Linked DNA regions of Homo sapiens: all the other regions are linked to region 3. The links are contacts of gene promoters, found by promoter capture Hi-C in blood cells and fetal thymus (Javierre and others, 2016). All regions are on one chromosome and are shown on one strand. Each heading gives the region's core, a stretch centred on a gene start or on the middle of the fragment in contact. The rest is flanking DNA. Distances are from core to core; before and after follow the strand shown. Region 1 overlaps CENPC (centromere protein C). Region 2 has its middle 55 kb from the start of TMPRSS11B. Region 3 holds the start of GNRHR (gonadotropin releasing hormone receptor).

Region 1 (2,700 bases), core at 186-2,685, 260 kb after region 3:
GCATATTAATTATCCATTATCAGGCCCTACATTTTTATCCACAAGTGGCTTATTTCATCTTTCCATGAGCAATAGAAAATCTGTTGTTTTTTTTGTTTGTTTGTTTGTTTTAACTGTTACACTGTTTAGAATAAAAACCAGGGGTGTCCAAGGGAGCGAATACAGTCATGAGTTCTTAGTTTCTGTTTCTGGTTGGTCCAATAAAACCCCTTCCTCATCCCTCTTTTCCACTTGTCGCCAGAGACAGAAACTAAAAAGCATGGTTTCAGGCTGCTAAAGGTCTAAAACAAAACAAAACAGAACAACCACAAAATAAGGTGGATTGGACAAACTTGCAATGTATTCATTGTAGCAAAGTCTAGAGAAATAGTTCTTTTCCTTAGTTTTTATAGTTGAGCAATGAAAAGCAAAAGGAGTAATAAAATACATTATCAGGTCAAACTTTATTTAAAATACTCATACTGAAATTGACCAGGAAACACATTTTAATTTAACATGGAATTAGCAGTCATTTCTTATGATATTATCTTTTGCATTTTGTAGATGACTCAAAACAATCTAAAGTGATACCAAAGAACAGAATCCATCACAAACTAGGTAAGAATATTTTTCTTTTTTAATATTTTCATTGAGAAAAATACCTTAAGTTTCTGTTTCTAAATATAACTTATTTCTTCTTAAGCAGGAGAAATACGATTATGTGGATTAATTGGCAGATAAATTAAAATTATGCACTTAGTTTTTATGAATTTCATAGTAAGTCACCACAAGCCACTTGAATTAGTCTATTGTCCATTTATAAATCCTATTGCCCTCTCACTTTTTGCCCCATAGTAGGGGGCATGATCCTCCCTTAGCTATGAAGCTAGGGTGGAGAATTTTGTCAAAGAAACTGTAACTACCAGGTAGATGGCTTCCTTGACAGCATCTCCTTCCACTTTAATCCAGTTGACTCCTAAACAAAGCAGTAGCTAGGATAGTAAGTAGACAAAGCTAAGAACTGTGGAACCCATGGAGAGGCCCATGTAAAGATTAACAATCCATGGTTCCCAAAGAGATATTTGCCAGTCAAGATACATGATAGTTCCCACCTTTCTGTGATGTTGGGTGGCTTTCCATGTTTCTCCCTTTATTTGAGGCTGTGAGTGCTCTTTCACTCATACTCAGATTACCAATAGGAGTGAAGCTTTCTCTCATTGCCTTACTCCAGAACTTAGATATTGTCAGTATTTTGTGGGCCTATGTGATGAGAGACTGCTATACCTCTCAATACTTAATGCTTGTCTTGGGGTGAAATGATGAATCAGGAGTAGGGAAAGGGAAATAAAAATGTTCCTGAGCAGGGCTTCAGTATTTACAGAGGGGAACATTGAGCATTATGCCTAAGAGCAGTAGGCAACTTCTCGTTAGCTTCAGCATAGCTTTAGCAAACAAAAAATAGGTAAGAACATGGGAATTTGAAGATAAGCCAACAAACTCAATTTAGTATACAGAACTTTGCATTGTTCAGATAAGATGAGTGTACATTTAACATTGTCAACGCTGAGTATTATTAGGTTTTTAAATATTTGCCAATTTGGTAGCCTGTTTTTCCATTGGCTTTTCTTTAATTGTTAGCATAAATATTTGTTTTTTCTAGTCTTTTGTCTAGAAAAATATTCATGTTCTAAAAAATAAAGCTTTCATGTTCTAAAAGACAGTCTTTCCACTGCTAAGTACCATCAACTAAAAACTATGTATACACTTTTGTCTGACATCTTTTTATAGTATTGCCCTCCAACACACCAAATGTTCGCAGGACCAAGAGAACACGTTTGAAACCTTTGGAGTACTGGCGAGGAGAGCGAATAGATTATCAAGGAAGGCCATCAGGTAAAACTTATTTATGTTATAATATCTGTCAATAAAAAATTTGTTTACTATGTGCCAGACACTGCACTACATGTTTATATACATTACCTTACTTAATCATCACCCCCCCAAATTTTGATAATAGGATTTAAATTCATTTTTGTCTGATTAATGTAGAGATGCTGATATTTTCTCTTTGGTAGCTGAATGTTGTTATTCCTGTATCATCTGACAAGATTTCCAATTGCATAATATAAAGCGTTAGATTAGAACGTGAGAAAATTGTAACTGGTAAAGGTAAAGTAGTTTTCATTATTTTTCCTATTAACCATTTTCCATTTTCTCATAGTTTTCTACAAAGTAGTGTAGGGTGGGCAAGAAAGTGTAGTGTTAATCGTAGAGTTATTTTCTTTCTTATTTTTGTAGAGATGAGGCCTTGCTATGTTGTCCAGGCTGGTCTCATCTTATGGGCTCAAGCAGTCCTCCCGCTTTGGCATCTCAAAGTGCTGAGATTACAGGTGTGAGCCACTGTGCCTGGCCATATTTCTTTCTTTGATGGATATATCTAAGTCAAAGGACTAAACTCATGTGGATTTCTATAAATAGTTCATTGCTAGCCCCCTCCTTTTTTTTTTTTTTTTAAAAGCCTCCACTGATGACTGTTGATTTCAGGGGAGCAATAGGACCATCTAATCATGTTTCATCATCTAATCCTGTTTTATCAGCCTCTGATTTAGGGTGGTAGAGATATAATGAAATTGGTTGGTATTTGTGTTATTTTAACTATTAGCTGCAGACATATATTCTTTGGTACTTTGAAAGGAAATGTGCCATATTAAATTTAAGGAG
Region 2 (2,765 bases), core at 260-2,759, 440 kb before region 3:
CTTTGCCATTTAATTATATCATATTAATATCACATGTAATGGTTTCATTCATATCATCTCTTCCACAAGATGATTTTCAAAGGCAATAATCATATTGCAAAATAATATTAATATTTATTTAGTTCTTATATGCTTGGCACTCATGCAGTATGTAGCATATTGCTAAATGTTGAATATGCATCACATTGGAGATAACACATGTCATATGTCAAGCAGCTTAATATCTATGAAATTTTAGGAAGGAAATATAATAGCTTAAGTATAGGCTTTGGAGTCAGACAAATTGAGTTTTGATACTTGGCTCTTCTTAGTGGCTGTATAATTTTGGGTAAATTACTTAGTCTCTCTGAGACTACACTTCTGAACGATTAATACATTTCATAAAGTTTTTCTAAAGTATCTTCACATAGTAGATACTTACATGGTAACTATTTTTATTCATAATCTGACAGTTGATTACTATAGATGGAAATCTCTTTATAGTATATATTCCTGTCTCAACCAACATTTTACTCTGTCTGAACTTTATATCTTCATCTACTATCTCAAACATTCTCTTATCTCTGTCTATTTATGATTGATATATATATCTCAAAGTTCAGACAAAGTAACATATTGGTTGAAACAGGAATATAGATATATATAATATATATTTATATCACATAATATAAATATATATCTATCTCATACTTGGTCCTGTAAACACAATGCCTAGATGATCTAGTCAACTGTACCCAAAGAGTGTATCAATATCTAATATGAGCACAATACATACTAGTTGTTATTGCTGTGTAATCTATATCTGGATTTGAAGCTTATTTAATTTAAATAATTCTTGGATCATTTCTTGATCTCACAGCAAACAGGATCTACTTCTACCAAGGTAGCTTTAAAATGCTGGATATCCCATATAATAGCAATTATGAAAGGGAGACATCACCAGAAAATAACTATCTTAGCCAAATTCTTGAGACTAGGTAAGTTAGTATTTTCCTATATTTCATTGTTAATTCTCTGAAATATAAGTACTGGAATTTGATATTTGACTCTATTTTCTCTGTTAACAGATGGTTGATGCATTTCAAAGTTCTAGCATTTACAGACAATATATCTTTTCTCAAGTCATCACACTGGTGTAAGTAACCAACATTAACCATCAAAAAAGAGATCAACTGATCATACATACCAGGACACTTCAAATTTCTCTGTGAAAAGAATCTATTGATATGTTATAGTCCTTAGCCAATAAGCTATGAATATCAAGCATTATCATAAATGTCAGACTAATTTTTCAATATGAAACCTAAGATTGGGGCCATATAGTTGAGTTCACTAGATGTATTGAGGATACATTAATCCTCAAATTATAAATGTGTCATCCTTTTGGTTTCCTAAATATTTATGTTCAGAAAACATTAGATAGTCCCATAGACCAATGTTTGATGCTCTAAAATTTTTATTTAGCAGTAGCATAAATATAGATCCTGTTTTCTCCTGTCTTTTGACTTGCAAGTCAGCTAAACACTTTGTGGAAATACCCCTAGAATTCTTAGTAGATACAGGTTAGGAGACAGCATATTTACACTAGACTTTGAGATCAAGAAAACCTTCTAGTCACCATAATAAGAAGTAAAATAGCTATGCTGTGTTCCCTACATGTGGGTTTGGAGTGGCATGAACTAGCCGAGGTAACCATAGAATAGATTTAGACAACCTGAGCCTAGCCTTTGCCATTTAATAGCCCTAGAGTCTTTGGCAAGTTACTGTATCGCTTTGAATCTGTTCCACTATCTCATTACATGTTAGTAGTAATACTTGCTTTGCCTCACTCACAGAACAGTACTAAGGATAAAAAAGAAAAGAAAATATGTGTGGAAACACTCACAAATAAACACATTTCAGATGAAGGCAATTATTGCTTTTATTTCCATCAGTGTCGCAGGACTATGTCTGCTCTTCTTCCCTGCTCATGGGACTCCTGGAATTGTAGAACAGATTAAGCTCTCAACTAGCATTAACATTGGAGGTCAATTTTGGTATTGAACATAAATGTGAGATTAAAGTTGAAGGGCCCAGATATCTCTCAGAGATGACTGCAACCACGGGAGATGTCTCTGTTTTGTTTTCCCATGCATGTAAATTCAAGTATCTATAAACAGCATGGGCCAAAAGGCAGTCATGAAGAGGTCACAGGACAAAGCTTTTCACTTTAGCATACACTGCTATAATAATCAAACTTATGTGACCTGAGTGCTTCCCAGGAATTATTATTGATTTATGTGCCAAAATATTGAACATCCCTGAGGAAGCCTCAAAGCATAATAATGTTACTTCAGACACAAGCTTCAGGACTCCTTAACAATTCCTGCGTGTCTAATTGGCTAGCTCCTCAGGCTGACTGCCCTTTTCCTGTTTCCAGACAAATCTTCCCTAAAACTCATGGTCAGATTAATTTTCCTCAAATACAGTTTACCTCAACAACTTTCCATCACTGCTACCCCTCAGCTAGCATTAAAGATCCTCTTCTGGTTGAGCCCAATCTCCTAGACACTGCCATTACTGTATGACTAGGCACAGAGTGACAGTGTACAGCATACAGACAGCTCTGTAAAGAGCCCAGGTTATGCAGTCAACTGCACTAAATCTAAATCCTAGTGTAGTGTGTACTTACTCTTGAATACATTATATAACTTCCCAGAGCCTCAATTTTTCCTTGTCTATAAAATGAAGATAACACCTATGCTGCAGGATTGTTGTGGAGACTG
Region 3 (2,700 bases), core at 55-2,554:
AAAAAGGAGCTCAGGTACAGGACTGGTCTAAGCTGCTCAAGATTCAGGAGACAGCCAGTACACAGAGAAGCTGAGGAGATACATAAGATATATCTAAAACATTTATCTAACCTTCTGTGGTAACAAGCTCCTTAAAGGGGCTGGATGATGTTGTGTTCACTTTTTATCACCAGCAAAGGCTAAGATAATGTATATAGTAAATATTTAGTAACTATTTATTAAATAAATAAATATTTAAGACAGAATAAACAAGTATAATAAATGAACCAATAAGAATGCACCATCTAAGTCAAAATAGCCACTTTTATCCTTAACATTGTACCTGCTTTGGCTGCTGCAGAAGCAAACTTGTTGGCATTAGACAAATCAAGCTGGTGATTTAATAAATTCCAATGTAAGTCTTACCAGTATTGATGAATAACTATCCAGCACTCACCATGAAAGTTAAAGAAACAACACAGAAAAAGTTCCTAAGTGGTCCCAATTTGAAATGATCAGATAACCTATAAAAGAACATATTCATATTATACTAACATAAACACATATAAATGCACTTACAGCAGTTACACAGTATTCTCTTCAATAACTAGTTTCCTTATGCATTAATGTGTAATAACAGCAACTACAATATTTAGATAATTATAAAAACCAAGGCAATAATTTAAAAACTGATTAACCGTTTTACTCTAACTTAAGCATGGATTGGATCAGTAAGATTGATTAATAAATTTGAATGCAGTCAGTTGGATTGATTCTAATTTAAAGTTTTAATTTGTTGTAGAATAATTTTAAGTGAATATATTTGTCCAGTGTTCGAGTGCTCAACAGTGTGTTTGAAAAGGAAAACAAAGAAATGTTTTTGAGAAATGTGTTAATTCCTTAAGACAATGGATTTTAATTGGATCTAGTTGTTTTCATTTTTCTTCATTATCATTATACATCTGTATGTTGGACAGAACACTAACACTAAATAGTTTTTAGAAAAATTTTTTAAAGTTATTTAAATCATAATATCATGACTGACTTTTAAATTCAAAATTAGGCTGTGACTATCCTTCTTCACTTAGGAAGAGTGTTGTGAAAGCCAGACCATCTGCTGAGGTGCTACAGTTACATGTGGCCCTCAGAATGCATTTGGCCTGCTCTGTTTTAGCACTCTGTTGGATTACCAATACACAAAACAAGTTAACCTTGATCTTTCACATTAAGTATCTCAGGGACAAAATTTGACATACGTCTAAACCTGTGACGTTTCCATCTAAAGAAGGCAGAAATAAAACAGGACTTTAGATTCGGTTACAATAAAATATCAGATGCACCAGAGACACAAGGCTTGAAGCTCTGTCCTGGGAAAATATGGCAAACAGTGCCTCTCCTGAACAGAATCAAAATCACTGTTCAGCCATCAACAACAGCATCCCACTGATGCAGGGCAACCTCCCCACTCTGACCTTGTCTGGAAAGATCCGAGTGACGGTTACTTTCTTCCTTTTTCTGCTCTCTGCGACCTTTAATGCTTCTTTCTTGTTGAAACTTCAGAAGTGGACACAGAAGAAAGAGAAAGGGAAAAAGCTCTCAAGAATGAAGCTGCTCTTAAAACATCTGACCTTAGCCAACCTGTTGGAGACTCTGATTGTCATGCCACTGGATGGGATGTGGAACATTACAGTCCAATGGTATGCTGGAGAGTTACTCTGCAAAGTTCTCAGTTATCTAAAGCTTTTCTCCATGTATGCCCCAGCCTTCATGATGGTGGTGATCAGCCTGGACCGCTCCCTGGCTATCACGAGGCCCCTAGCTTTGAAAAGCAACAGCAAAGTCGGACAGTCCATGGTTGGCCTGGCCTGGATCCTCAGTAGTGTCTTTGCAGGACCACAGGTAAGCCATTATACACAAACTTATTTGGATATGGTGATCATAGATTTCCTATCTAAATTTGATATAAGGTCTTATCAAAGGAAGTACTGTATTACCTTTAAGAGCTTGGGTTCTGGAAGTCAGAGAGTGAAGTTTAATTCTGGCTCTGTTCTGTTACCTTGGGCAAACTTCTTAACCTCTCTGGTTTCAGTTCCTTTACCGATAAAATGTAACATGGGGGTTAATGCTTACTTAATACTGCTTTTGTGATGAATAAATAAATAAAGTAGCTCACATAATCTCTATTATGTAGCAAATGCTTCCCCAAAAAAAATGCGATTCTCAAACTTGACCTTATCTCCATCCTATTCTTTTATCTGTTTTTCTTTTTGTTTTGGTTGACATGGCTTTAATGTTTAGTTGAGATAATTTTTAGGAATTATGAAATTTGCCTAGGTAGAAAATATTTATAATGTTTCTTATTTAGGGTTTCTTCAGTGGAAATTTTAAGAATTCTGTCACTGCAGCTTAGAGAGAATTATTCTTTGTTAGTATGTTGCTCTGCAGTTTGCAGCTAAGTGGGACTGAATATAGAAGAAAAGTAAGACATCTTGGATGTTTGGAAATCCAAATATTTCCCTAAAGTTAGCTTGAGTTTTGCTGGAGGCAGCTTATTGAGAAAGCCATATGACTGACAGAGTAGGCACAGGCCCTCCCCACAGAGGGCAATTATCTTTCCAGGTTGCCTTCACCAGAAGCAGCCTAGTTAACTGACCTGCTGAACCTGCCATTTTAACAATCAGATCCCCGAAGAAAAGGACAAATTCTTGAAAATAACAAAGA

What was found. The method cuts DNA at HindIII sites, captures the fragments that hold promoters and counts their contacts. A CHiCAGO score of 5 or more calls a contact.
Region 1: a contact is called between a fragment that was not itself captured here and the fragment with the promoter of GNRHR in region 3, in 4 of 17 cell types (fetal thymus, naive B cells, total B cells and 1 more). The highest score is 6.2, in fetal thymus.
Region 2: a contact is called between a fragment that was not itself captured here and the fragment with the promoter of GNRHR in region 3, in 1 of 17 cell types (neutrophils). The highest score is 5.2, in neutrophils.

What each region holds. Positions count from the first base shown.
Region 1 is chr4:67,493,056-67,495,755 of GRCh38, reverse strand. It overlaps CENPC (centromere protein C), which reads left to right. Exons shown (of 19, transcript NM_001812.4): 13 at 544-597; 14 at 1,768-1,872. Among named protein-coding and RNA genes, the nearest start is that of CENPC, 51 kb to the left of the region's middle. The HindIII fragment of the contact is 493 bases long and covers 1,189-1,681 here.
Region 2 is chr4:68,189,619-68,192,383 of GRCh38, reverse strand. It overlaps the pseudogene FTLP10 and the pseudogene TMPRSS11BNL. Among named protein-coding and RNA genes, the nearest start is that of TMPRSS11B, 55 kb to the left of the region's middle. The HindIII fragment of the contact is 1,386 bases long and covers 817-2,202 here.
Region 3 is chr4:67,752,992-67,755,691 of GRCh38, reverse strand. GNRHR (gonadotropin releasing hormone receptor) reads left to right here and starts at 1,304. Exons shown (of 3, transcript NM_000406.3): 1 at 1,304-1,878. The coding sequence starts at 1,357. The HindIII fragment of the contact is 5,914 bases long and covers 1-1,721 here.